2 separate regions of the Homo sapiens genome follow, and region 1 is linked to region 2. The links are contacts of gene promoters, found by promoter capture Hi-C in blood cells and fetal thymus (Javierre and others, 2016). All regions are on one chromosome and are shown on one strand. The core of a region is centred on a gene start or on the middle of the fragment in contact, and the rest is flanking DNA. Distances in the headings are between cores, read along the strand shown.

What was found. The method cuts DNA at HindIII sites, captures the fragments that hold promoters and counts their contacts. A CHiCAGO score of 5 or more calls a contact.
Region 1: a contact is called between the fragment with the promoter of WFDC13 here and the fragment with the promoter of SEMG1 in region 2, in 11 of 17 cell types (M1 macrophages, M2 macrophages, M0 macrophages and 8 more). The highest score is 13.6, in M1 macrophages.

Annotation. Positions count from the first base shown.
Region 1 is chr20:45,699,966-45,707,377 of GRCh38, reverse strand. It overlaps WFDC13 (WAP four-disulfide core domain 13), which reads right to left and starts at 5,340. Exons shown (of 4, transcript NM_172005.2): 1 at 5,167-5,340; 2 at 2,784-2,934; 3 at 1,451-1,515. The coding sequence starts at 5,254. The coding sequence ends at 1,473. WFDC10B (WAP four-disulfide core domain 10B) reads left to right here and starts at 2,359. Exons shown (of 4, transcript NM_172006.2): 1 at 2,359-2,460; 2 at 2,817-2,881. It overlaps MIR3617 (microRNA 3617), which reads left to right and starts at 2,198; the gene lies at 2,198-2,276. The HindIII fragment of the contact is 1,162 bases long and covers 5,051-6,212 here.
Region 2 is chr20:45,203,713-45,210,085 of GRCh38, reverse strand. SEMG1 (semenogelin 1) reads right to left here and starts at 3,053. Exons shown (of 3, transcript NM_003007.5): 1 at 2,957-3,053; 2 at 1,356-2,712; 3 at 318-485. The coding sequence starts at 3,032. The coding sequence ends at 1,400. The HindIII fragment of the contact is 3,637 bases long and covers 2,826-6,373 here.

The DNA.
Region 1 (7,412 bases), core at 4,091-6,590, 500 kb before region 2:
GCCAACCTGTATGTAAGAGACCTGCCTCACTCAGGTCAACTCGAACCACATATGGTCAGTTTCTGGTAGTAAAAGAGTCTATAGATTTTTCTGAACAGTATTTCCTGCCCTGGATCAGGGGTCACTAGGTTATGGTAGGCCAAAGATAGGACACTACAAAAGACAAAGAGAGGGACTAATTCTGTCTGGAGTGAACTGGTGAAGTTTCTATGGAGTGTTTAATTTAATAGAAACCTTGAAGCATGAGTGGGAGCTCATCCGCAGCATGGTGGGCTCACCGGAGCCTGGGCAAGTGCTCATGCGTCTAAACTGCTCCACTGGCCTCCACCTGCTACTATTTATCACGCTCCTTTGTACAGGGTTAATAAAAGGACTAAGCTGAAAGACCACCATTCTAATTTGGAACATCTGGAGACATCAGAAGGCCCATTAGAAGACCCTAAACTTCTAACTTTTTCTTTCAAATACTCTGAAACGAAATCCACCAACTTATGAATACTATCATTTTTTTGGTGGTGGAATTCCACAGGACTCCATTTTGTTCACCATTCTTGAAGCATCAGTAAAATAATAAAGATGATTCCCACTCCCTCTTTTTTTTTTTTTGAGACGGAGTCTCACTCTGTCGCCCAGGCTGGAGTGCAATGGTGCACTCTTGGCTCACTGCAACCTCTGCCTCCTGGGTTCAAGCAATTCTCCTGCTTCAGCCTCCTGAGTAGCTGGGATTCCAGGTGTGCACCATCACACCCAACTAATTTTTGTATTTTTAGTAGAGACAGGGTTTCACTCTGTTGGTCAGGCTGGTCTTGAACTCCTGACCTCGTGATCCGTCCACCTTGGCCTCCGAAAGTGCTGGGGTTACAGGTGTGAGTCACCATACCCGGCCCACTCCCTCTTTTTTCAGAGAAAAAACTGGAACCTGAATGAGTGACCTTGTAAGTGAGTTGCTGGCAGTTTCTACCTTTGCAGAGACCAAGTTCTTCCATCTACATGGCCTTGTGTTGTCCTCCCAATACCCCAAGGCATGGATGTTTTCTTCATATTTCACATGAGGGAGGTGACTGTCTCAGAGAGGTACAGTGAGCAGACCAAAGTCTCAGAGCGTGAAGGGCTCAGCTTGAGTCCCTGCCCAGGGTGCTGTCAACCCGGAGGCTAGAAGAGCTTGTTCCTTGACAAAGCCTCAGATCTGAGTGCCCTGGGTTCCCCCTGGGCCATGACTTGGTTCCTTACATTGCTCTGTGTTGCAGAATTCATGCTGGACTGCACCGTGCCTCCCCCAGGGAGTGCAAAGATAGCCCTTGGAGGGGAATGATGGAGGAGGAGGCAATCAGGTAATGAGAGGCCATTCTGAGCTTGTGGGAATGTAGTGCCCCTGGTGAGGCTACAGGAAGAAAGTGAGCATCCCTGGGAATCTCACATGAGGAAGGCGAGACCAAATCCCTGTACTTACAAAATGATCTAGGAAATATGCCTCAGTTGGCAGGCATGATGACTTCTGAGCCCTTGTGTTTGATTCTGTAGAAGAAAAATATTTTCAAATATTAACTAGTGAAGTTTTACTTTTAGAGATATATATTTTTCTTTCAATTACTTCCACCATTAATATTAGACCATGAAGCTCATTTCTCTTGCCATAGGGAAGGCAGAACCTCAAAAAACTCAATGACACCAAAGAGTTATATTTATGCTTCTGCATTCCAATGTAGAGCATTGAAAGATGTGGAATTTAATTGCAAGGGCTAGTCTCTTCAAAGAGAAGTGGTTGCCTAATCCCCAAAATTCACAGCAATTATGTTGGCAAGTAATGTTTTAAAGCTTACATGGATTGTCTATTTTAACCTCACTATTATTGTTCCAGTCTTAAGGATGAGGAAGTTGATGCCCAGAGAGAGGTTAATTAGCTTGTCTAAGATCACTTAAGGTCACTTAGCTAAGAAGCCAGGATTTGAGCCCAGGTGTTTGGCTTTGAGCCCATGCTTAATCACTCTGCACATTATCTCATGCTGGGTATTCTGCTCATGGTAGGGAATACAGCAGGGAACAAGACTGCCAGGCTTCCCTCAAAGGGCTCATTGGTTGAGTCTTCCACTGTGAGTCTTTTGAAATTTCATATGGGCCTTGCAAAGCAGGAAAAAACAAGAGTACTTATTTTACTCATGAGAAAAAGAAAGTAAAAAAGAGGGAATTGTCTTACTCAAGGTCATAGAAAGACATAGTTGCAAGATGGGATTAGAAACCATATGTCTCATCAGCACCCTATGTCCTTTCTCTGCCCTGGGAGCACACTCCATTTAGCAGGCTTGCGGCTAGTGTTAATGTCTGGACAATTAATCAAAACTTCCTTTGGGCTGGATCTCCAGAGCCCAAGAACACTGGTGGCCAAAGGATGGTGTCTTGTGAAAGGAGGGCAAGCAAAAGTGTAGGACAAATTTTGCTTTGGGATTTTGGTTACACCTGCAGGTACAGTGTCCCTGGGATAAGGGTGGATTCTGGGTCGGGGGAAGGTCTGTGGATAAAGGCATTTGTGGGTGTGTTCAGAGAGGCAGAGTCAGAAATTCACGGATATGGTGATGGGATGTGGTGATTGGGAGGGGAGGAGGGCTTTTCTAATCAGGACTTTTATGGAAATTATCCTTGGTCAAGAGAAGGGGCATGTTGGCAACATGGCCACCAAGGAAAAAAAAAAAAAAGGAGAGATCCAGCACAGTTGCTGGTAAGGGACTCTTCTGCTGGGCTCCCACCAGCAGCTCTAGGATCAGACCTGGATATGAGATATCTCTTACCTGTTGCGCTTTTGAAATGTTTCTGATGAACAGACTATCCCACAGAAGGAGGAACAGCACTGAAATCCTTTCTCGCAATCTTCCTGCATTGTACACAGGTGAGTACAGTTTTCAGGTGCTGATATGCAGGGTGGAGGTTCCAAGATATACTCTGGAACACAGAACAAGTAAGAGAAGGGCCTCACCAACAGGCTGGAGTAATGTTCAGAACTCAGAAAGCCCAGGGAACTGCCAGGAAACCTGCCACCCTCATCTGCCTTGCATGGTTCCAGGGTGGTGGCATCAGGTTTTGTCCTCAGCTGCTGCCTTCCTCTGAGTTCTGAGCAGGGAAGCAGGGCATGGATATTTTTTGATCAAGAACAGAGTTTGGTAGAACCCTGCACCCATTGGTCATTCACCATCCTTGTAGTTCAGATGCCAAGCCCCCATTGACTATGGTTGTGTCCATATCAAGGGTATCAATGGTGTATGTGGTGAACAAGAAAGAGGTTTGTATGTTCGTTCTGCACTGATTCATTGTGTGGTCTTGAGCAAGTTGTAGAGCTTCTCATTAACAACATAGTTTACCCTGGGGTTAACCTAACATGGGTTATTTGTGTACAGGAAGAATGAGTGAAAGGTAAGTTTTGGTAAAGGATGAAGACCATGCATTAAACTGAAGGTACTGGATCAGAGAGCTGGGACCCAATTCACAAGTAAGTTCTGGGAGTGACTTCTTTCATGGTAAGAAGGGTGGGGATTTCAGAATGGCGTTCAAAGATTCAGCTTTTTTCTTCCTTGGTGTCTCTCGATCAGGAGGCCAGAGCACCAGGATGCCCCACTTTCTACTGTTAGAGAAGAATAAGCATCATTATGTTGACTTCCTATTTCCTCCCCTACCCCCAAGTATTTCAGTTCAAAGCTAAGACCTACCTGCCCTGGGAGAGTCTTCCCTAAGTCCACAACCCACAATCTCCTTTCTATTCCTGGACTCTAAAGATGGGCCCCATTAATCCCTTTCCCCAAGCCCTTCCAGGTCCTAATTTTTGTACCTTGTGATTCTCCCTTTCTTTGGGGGCAAAAGTCAAAAGTGGGGCATTCTATTGCAAATAGAGGAATTGTGGGTCTATTCCTCTGCAAATATTTGCAATTAGAAGGAAATCTATAGGATATTATGATGATTTGAAAGGAATGAATGAAGAAAGAGGTCATGACTATAACTGTAGTAGCAAATGGCACCAGAATTGGGGTAAAAGAAGCTGAGGTTCAAGCTGTTGACAATTTAACAGAGACCAATAACTAGTACTCACCCCTGGCCTCTCAGCTATTCTATAGCTCACTGGGGCACTGCAAGAAATTGGAACTAATCCACACTTTGAAGAGCTTGGGGCTCAACAGAGCAGTTTAGAGATAGACACCATGATCCAGAGATCTCAGAGAGGTCACCCTTTTCAAGTCTTGACCCCTCTTCTGGGTATCTGGTCCCAACTTCACTCACAGCATTTACCAGTCTTTTAGAAAGCCTCTTTGTGCCTTTCCTCAAATTCTGATTCTCCAATTAACTCTACCCTGGGCACTCCTATTTTCTTGTAGCTTGCTTAGTCCCTCTTAGTCCTACAAACCTGCATGCCTTTTCTGAAACTTCTTAAGCAGGACCTAGCCTCCCCAGACACATGAGCTACCACACTTATCCCTCTTCTGAGCCGCCAGTATTCTGAAGATGTTTTCCCCATAGAAGAGTGGATGTATGATGAATAACAGTTCTTTTCCCACTTGGTATTGGTTAAGGTCAACATTACTAGAGCCAGAGCTCTTTTGAGTTGAGCTGGGCAGTGGTGGCTGCTGAGATGGACTCTACACTGTCCCATTGATGCTAATTACCGGTAATTGTACAGTACCTCTGGAGTTTGAAAATGTGGAATAAAAGGCAAGACTTCCTTTCCCTCCTTCCCAAAACATCCTCCAAGGCCAAGGTTATGTAGATTCTAGCTTGAGTTCTACCAACTTCGTTGTCTCTCTGTTTTATTGCTTGAAAAGTGAGTCCAAGCATCCATGAAGGAGCCACGGGCAGCAAGACTAAGCTGGATGATGAGGCTGATCACATTTACAGCATTTAATATTACTGAGCATTTACCATGGTTTAGTAAGAGTGAGCTATGTCTGCATGCATTATCTGTTCTCCTCCTGTATTCATTATAAGGATAAAAACCTGAGGCCCAGATACTATGCCCAAGGTCACTCAGCAACAGAGCAGGGATTCAAACCTAGATCTTGCCAACAATAAAGCTTGGGCCCTTGAACATGACACGGTATTTTTCCAAGAGGTGTGACAGACTGTCAGCCCTCAGATCCTCTCCTATCCACACATGTTACTTCCCTCCTTGGGCCCAGATCCAGCACCTACTCAGAACACGCTGCTTGGGACTCCCAGGCACCAGCTGCAGTGCTAGGCAGAACACCACCAGGAACTGGAGAGGCAGCACAGGCTTCATGGTGTCAGTGGGATGGGTGAGTAAGTTCTGGCCAAGGGTTGCTGGGTTTGACCAGGCACTGCTGTGAGGAGAAGAGAAGGAAAGAGGGCAAAGTGGAGGCCCAGTGTGACTAGCCTTTCACCGTGTACTCCAATCAAAACCGGCAGGGCAGGAATCCAAGCACCTCCCAATCACACCCACTCCAGGGTCACGTAGTGTTTTCATATCCTCCTTTATTCCCCTAATCTTGACCTTGCTATCTCTTTCATCTGTATCTAGATCTTATTCATGTCCCTTAACATTTTTTTATAATTTTCCCCTGTGGAAATTGTACATGTTATATTTATTCACAGAGGATTGAATTTTTTTTTTTTTTTTTTGAGATGATGGAGTCTGGCTCTGTCACCCAGGCTGGAGTGCAGTGGTGCGATCTCTGCTCACTGCAGCCTCTTCCTCCCAGGTTCAAGCAATTCTTGTGTCTCAGACTCCTGAGTTGCTGGGATTACAGGCGTGTACCACCATGTCCAGCTAATTTTTGTATTTTTAGTAGAGATGGGGTTTCACTGTGTTATCCAGGCTAGTCTTGAACTCCTGACCTCAGGTGATCTGCCCTCCTCAGCCTCTCAAAGTGCTAGGATTACAGGTGTGAGCCACCGCGCCTGGTCTGAGGCTTGAAGTTTTTAAAAGGAAATTGTAAATGTTATCATAACTTTTCAACTAATTCCTTTTGTTTACTGCTAATGTAGAGAAGTTAACTTTCCAGTTTGCTCAAAAATCTCCACCATGACAATTATTTGACCTCACTGAAACCAATAAACATTGACTCTTCACTTCCCTATTTCGTAGTCCTCCCCTATAGGCGTTTACTTTTCTTTCTATCAATGTAGGACTCAGAACCTGTCATTTAAATCTCCTTGCTTGAATCTACCTACAAAAACTGCAACCCTGAATGAATCCAACCATCAATTTCATTGAAGCTTGAACCTAGGCAGATAATTGTTGCTGGGGGAAAATAACTCAACTGGGCTACTAAACAGCACAATAGATGCACCATCACCAAACCAAAAAGGGTCTGGCAATCTTACTAAGTTTCTTCAGTAAGCCAGTGTTCCCACTTTCTACAAATACTATTTCAAACTTGCTTTCCTCTCTTTAAAGCTTGGATCTTTTCTTCTTTCCACAAATTTGTAACTAGTTAGCTTGCTAAATTCTCCCATTGTTTATTATGGTTTCTTTGTGTGTTCTCTTCAGTGTTTATCATAGGCAAATAAGCAGTTATAGTTTTCTTCTTCAAACTTTATGCCATTTTTAATGCCTCACTGTGCTCGCTAGGCCCTTGAGTACATCATATGTAAGTGGTGATAGTGTGTATTTTTGTCTGATACCTGATTTAAAATGAAAACTTCTTGTTTCCCCTTTTAGAATTGTCTCCACTTTAGGTTTCTCATAAGTACCCTCTATCAGGTTTAGAAATTTTTCTTTCATTCCTAACAAGAAATTTTAAATTAGTTTATGTCAGATTATATGTATTGCTTTTTTCTATGTATATTGAGATGATAACATTTTTATATCCTTTAATCTGTTAATGCAGTGAACATTCAGATTTTCAAACATTAAGCCATTTCTATGGTAATATAAGGTGATCATTGAATATTATCATTTTTATATTGTTTGGTTTAGTTTGCTATTTTTAAGGTATTTTACATCTATGTTCATAATGAACTGGGCCTGTAACTTGTCTTTCTCATATTGTCCTTGCTTGGTTTCATAGCAAGTTTATGCTGACTTCATAGGATGTGCTGAGTAGCAGCCCTTCTTTATCAATTCTCTATAAATTCTTGATTTAAGATAATTAGTTACTTGAACTCTCAACTCTGTTTTTCTTGCACGAATATACCCATTTGCACCTTGTTGTTTTCATTTAACAATATATCCTGAAAACTGCTCTCCAGTAGTTCATAACAATTTTTCCTCTATTACAGCTGCATTTGACATACACCTTAGTCATATAGCCAGTCTCCTATATTTGGGCATTTAGGTAGTTTCCAAGATTTTGCTATTATAAATAATGCTGCAATGAACAATTATGCATAATTTTCTGTATTGTTGGAGGTATAATATCAGTAAATTTCTAAAAGTGTGATCATTGGTTAAAAGGATAAATGCACGGCTGGGTGCG
Region 2 (6,373 bases), core at 1,804-4,303:
GGACTTTCCCAGGGCCTGTTGCAATACATTTTCTCTTGTCTTTCTGGGATATTTTTAGTTCCTGGGGTCTTATTAGTACCAGGGTCATGAAAGCCTTTAGTGTTGGCCTCAGGTGGTAGACATGTGACTGGTAGACTAACAGCACCCTATTTTTAGTGTTGGTTTCTATCAATATATCTTGAAATGTGGCTTTGATTACTATTCTCCCTAGTGCTTCAAAAATATCCCTTTATTTTCTTTCAAAACCACTTACATTAGAAATGCCCTCAACCCCTTGAGCCACTAGGAATCCAGAGAAAACAGGAGTCAAAAGCAGATGAAGCAGAAAATGATCTCTTTATTGGAAGTTTGAAGGCGCTTCAGGTTAGGAAAGCCTAATTCAAGGAAGCATGGGCAGGTGGTGTCATCCATGGACCAAGAATCTGAAACTACACGGGAGTCTGCATCTCAGAAACATCACAGAATTCACTGAGGTCAACTGACACCTAGAGAGAAAGAAGAGAATCAGTGATGTGAGTATAGTAAAAAGTGAAGGGTGGGGATGGTAGCTGGGCCCCCTGTCCCCTTCAGCTCCAACTGTACCAGCCCTCTACTACTAGGATACCAGGCCACTAGTTGCCAGCTGGGGCCACTGTTTCTACTGCTTGCCCTCTCTTCAAGTGCAGTGTTACTTACTGCAAAGAGGCAGGGAAGCACCATTACCCCTCTCAGGGCTTCAGTTTTCTTCTCCTGATGTTGTAAACACCCAATTGGCCCATGAGATCCCTCACCATCTCTTGTGTCTCCCTTTCCATCTTCTCTTTCACAACATGAACAAGGATCTTTCTACATATCTCTTTCCTGTATTCTGAGAGGGAGGACTGATAGTCTTTGGGCTTGTGGTCTCTGAAGGAGCATAGATGAACCCTAACAGGGATGCAAGAACATTCACTGGTGTGCAGAAAGAAAACATTAATGGCTGTAATCCTTTATACTATATAGGAAAGAAACTGAGGTTTACTAATCTAAAGTATAAGAACTGACAAGAGTATACCATAAACTTATAAATATGCATATGTAGTCAGTACCTGTTCAAAAAAACCTTTAGCAGGTAGGCATATACAAAAAAATATTATTGAAGAATATTCAATTAAGGATAGGAATTCTAGGACCTCATGATAGGCCAAACATCCTTCTGTGCCACTACCAGACCCTCTCCTCACCAGGGAATGGGGAGGCTCATCTTCCTACCACTTGTTATACAGCACTTCTATTGGTGCGAACAATGGTTATCAATCCCACAAAAGTCCTGGAGAGTCCCCAACAATTCTAAACAATGAGAGAGATATCTCCCCTATTTGCTAAAAAAAAATTACCTTGATATTGGTCCATCCTTTCACATGGTTACCGAATGGTAGGTTTATGTAAATAATGGGTTTCGGTCGTTGTTAAGATGTTGTGCCAAATGACGATCACTGTCATCTTCCTGCTCTATAATTACAATATCCAATCCCCCATGAGATCCATGTTGGTGTCTGCCTTTTTGTTCATGACTGAGTAGGTCTTGTTCTCTATTTGTAGATTGGCCAGACTCTCCTTTTGCATTTTCACCATGCCATGGCTCTTGCTTAGGATTTGGTGCCTGGATTTGAGACTTGCCTGCTACTAGCTTTTCAGTTTGGCTATAAATACTGCGTTGGGATACATCTTTCTGCACACCATTTTCTCCATAGTGGAGTCGTCTTTCTTCCGTACTTGAAGATTGGTATGATATTTTATTTGCCTTTTGGCTATGCTCTTGCTCTTGACTGGGAATTGTTATCTGTTTTTGAGACTTGCCCTGTGCTTTCTCTTCAGTTTGGCTATAAATACTGCTTTGGGATACATCTTTCTGCACACCATTTTCTCCATAGTGGAGTCGTCTTTCTTCTGTACTTGAAGATTGGTATGATATTTTATTTGCCTTTCGGCCATGCTGTTGATCTTGATTGAGATTTTTTGTCTGGTGTTGATTCTTGTTATATACTAGGAGCTCATCTTGGGTAGAAAAAATGTCTTTGGATCCATGTTGGAGTTTGTCTTGGTGCGCAGGACAGAGTGAGGTTTGTACTTTACTTGAATGTTCCTCTCTCACTTCAACCACATTTTGGTAATGCCCTTTATTTTGATGAGAATTTTTAGTCTCACGTTGTTGTTTGTTAGCTACTAGCTCTTCAGTTTGGAGAACATAACTGCTTTGGGATCCGCCTTGTTTTCTACCTTTTTGTGCACCAGAGACGGAAGTTTGTTCTTTACTTAGTCCATGAACCCACAGCCTTTCTTCTGTGTTTGAATATTGACTGGATATTCCCTTTCCAGATGGGCTATTCCCCTGATCTTGAGAAGGATTTTGTGTCCCACGATGAGCTTTGCCTCCTTTATGGTGTATAACTACCCTGTGAAAATGACCTTTTGATTTATCATGGTCTCTGCCTTCTTGTTTATTATGGAGCAGTTGTTGACTTCCACCTAGATGTCGTTGTGATTTTGTCGTCTTATGTAGGGCATTCAAATCATATTGCTGACTTTTTCGGGACTGGTCATGATCATTGGCATCTACATGATATGTGTATTGAATAGAAAAACTGCCTTTGGATTCAGTTTGTTGCTTGCCTTTTTGTCCAGAATAGTGCTGGCCCTTTTGTCCGTGTGGAAATTGGGAAAATTCACTTGGTAATCGGCCTTTTGATCCACCTGGTAATTGATAATAAGAAGGTATGCATTCATTATCTCCAAAGCTCCCTTACAACTCTTACCCCCCACTTTTCCCCCAACAAATTATTGATATTTCTAGAAAAGCTGAAGCTTTGGGTGGAGAAAATCAATTCTCTTCAAAGAGAAGAATCTGTGCCTAAACAGGTTACTGTTTGCACCCCAAATAATCTTAGATTATTAGCTGTCTGAGCAGCTTTCCCCAAGGCTTACCCTCTCCACTCACCTTTTTGTCCCATCACAGCTGCTTGCTTCTCCAAGATGAGGAGCAGGGAAAGTACAAAGATGATGTTGGGCTTCATCTTGCTTGGAAAACCTTGTCTGAGAGCTGAGCCGACCTTGTCATTTATATCTTCCTTGAGTGAGTGTGCCATGGGTGGAGCTTAAATTACAAAAGGCACTGACTTTTCTTAGCTTATCAGTAAATGCCAACTTCCTCACCCCTGCTGAGTGTGGGACAAAGTCAATGTCCCCAGCAACATAATGTCAAAGGCATTTTCTTTCTTCTGGCAGCCCCAGCAAATTTTTATCAGTCCTTTTAGATCATCATGCCAGATCACTTTAATTTTACAGAATTATAGACAAAAGTAGGAAAGAGACTGGCTTCAGGCTACAAAAGCAATTGGTTTCTGAGAATGCCTTTATATTCTAAATGTGAGTTTCCCTTCATGATGCAATAATTTAAATACTCTATTTTAGATAGAACTCCATACTTCCTTTTGTTTTAAAAATGATCTTGAGACACGTTCTATTTTACCTAAGAATGAGCAATCATAGAAGTCCAATGATATAGAAGATAATGAAACGTTATGGAATCCAAAGAAAGAAATTTTAAACAAGTAAATGGGGCACTCCAATGTCAAATATGTCTGTCAAGTTCAACACAATAAAGACTGACATGTATCCAAAGTTTTTCTTAGTTGTTGCTAGTAACTTTAATGAGAGATGAATACAATTGCATTGGGTTGTCAGTTGAAGGATGGAGACCAGCTGCAACCTTCTCAGGAAGTCTGAATTCATGGTGGAGTGAGAGCTGAGGCTGTATCTGGAGGGTGAGGTAAGTTCCAGATGTGTTTTCAAAGGATGAAAGAATTTTAATATGCTTTCATGGTGATAGGAACAACTGTTGGAAAAAAAGTAAAAATGCTGGTTTCTAGATTGGGTTCTTTTCATGAAATCTACCTAAACAGCAGAATTTTCTTTTTAATTAAGAGAAGTTTCTACTTCAGTAGTAAACAGCTGAATCCCCAAACAGGCTGTGAGAAATATTTGCCACCATCAATGAATTGAATAATGTATTGTGAGTGGACATGAAGCTAAAATTCCCACCTTTGGTAGAAGCATAGATTTTTCCAATTGTGATGACATCCTGAAAAGTCTGAAGAAACTTTCTTTACTTTGAGTCATAAAGACTTCGTTATGAGCAGACCACAGGAGAAGAAGAAAGCATCCCAACAGTGTCCCTGTGTACATTCAGAACACCTTGGAGGGTAGTGCTGGGGAAAGGATAGCTTGAAAACTTATTTTCAATTATTCTGTCTTAGAATCTTAACCTTCCTGTAGGCAATGCTCTATGGAAGGGGAAAAGAGAAAGGCCAACCACAGAAAAAAAGTGCTATGCTATCAAACATAAATCATGTGAGCTGCATGGTTTCTCTATGAGCCACTCTGAGATCTTACCAAATTTATCTGTTTGCCTCAAAGGCAGTAAGTAGTTCCTTATTGCAGAAACCCCAACAGAGTAAGGTGATATTGTTCTGAACTAAAATTGATTACTGTGTCTGCTAACCACTGTAATCTTCCTCACACTTCCCTTAAGAAAATACCAGAAACTGTTCTGTTCCAAACTTACTGATACAAAATAGAGTCTGAAATATTAATCTTACTTATGGATCAAGAACAAAACTTTCATCTCATCTAGTGTCCAAAAGATGCAGATAAAACAAAAGGGCACAATATTTGCAAAAACAAACCAGGAAAATGCAATCCAAGCAAAACATGTGATTACTATATTCATATTAGAATTGAATTCAATGAAATGTGGAAAAAAACATTTCCAAATGATAAAGGAATGTATTGATAAAGTTGAAATCAGAAATCAGTGATTTGGAAAGCATAAAAATGGTATGGTGATGCATACATCTTAGATATGGAATTATGATGGGGGAAAAGATTAAGTGATCAAATGATTTGTCCTGTTGGACAAATAAAAAATGCAAAAATATTAAAGTGCACTAAATTGGCACAAAAATCTGAAAGTTTTATACTCATAGGAAAAGAAGAAAACAGGAGGACTTAAATGTATTTTGCTCAATTCTATGGGAAATCACTTTACAACTTAGAAAAGATTCAAATATAGTTATTTTTGGGGAATGGGCAGAAAAACCTGGTAGAGTAGGACTCCCCAGAGATTATACCCTCCAAAACGTCGAATTTAATAATTATCCACATATGATAATAGTTTCTCAAAAGCTAAACAGGCCAGATGAGATATTACAGAACCTGATTATAGTATAATAATTAAAAATACACATTGAAGAGGGCACGAAAGACAATTTTGTTTCCTGTATCACCCCTAACCCAATCACAGGCAGCACAGTGCAGAGAGAGCTACTTTCTTTTGGGGGGAAGGGAATGAAGTAAGGCTTGGACTTTTTCACGGAACAAAATACTAGTCTATAATAGTAAAATTCAGCACTGGGAGGACACCCATAGTGACCCTGCTTGAATACCTGTGGCCTAAGCAGCAAGACCTGCCCCAGCAGCAGAGAGGAACACATAGTTCCTGTGAGATAGACTTGCGTTCTTACCTGTACCACTGGCAGCCAACTACAGCAGCCTTGGATTATGAATAACCAACATACGTAGGCAGGTATCAGTGAGGAGGAGTTGGGAATGCATTCCATCATTGTGCCAGCCTCTGCAGCCATGGGTTACAGCCTGGTGCAGAACTGGCCATGGTGGTCCTGGGTTTATGACATCTCCTTGTGCTGCAATGACTGAAACAGTCACAGGCTTACAAACCTAGAACAGATGATCTGCCTAGAATTTCCGGACAGAGTTGAGGGACATTCTCAGACAAAGCCAAACTGGAGTAAGTACCTACCTTAAATTCAATATCTGCATTCAAGTACCTACCTGCAATTCAATAAGTACCTACTTCTTCAATGTGCAGACATCAATGCACAATCACAAGGATCAAGAACAATCGGGGAAAACTGATGACACCAAATTAACAAAATAAGGTACCAAATGAACAAAATAAGATACCATTGATTGGCCCCAAAGACATGGAGATGTATGACCTGCCTGAAAGAGAATTTAAAATGGCTGTTCTAAGGAAGCTCAAAGAACTTTAATAAAATACAGATAAATAATTAAATGAAATGATGAAAACAATAAGTGACCAGAAAGAGAGATGTAACAAAGGGTAAAAATGATAACATTTAATATCTAATGTTAATATAGGAGCTGAAGAATGCAATGAATAAAATGAAAAGTGTGAAAAGTGCAATAGAGTGCATTAACACCAGAAATGATCAAGCAGAAGGAATAATCTGTGAGCTTGAATACAGGTTATTTGACAATATATACTCAGAAAAGGAAAAAAGAAAAAAGAATAGAATGAAGGAAACTTATGAGA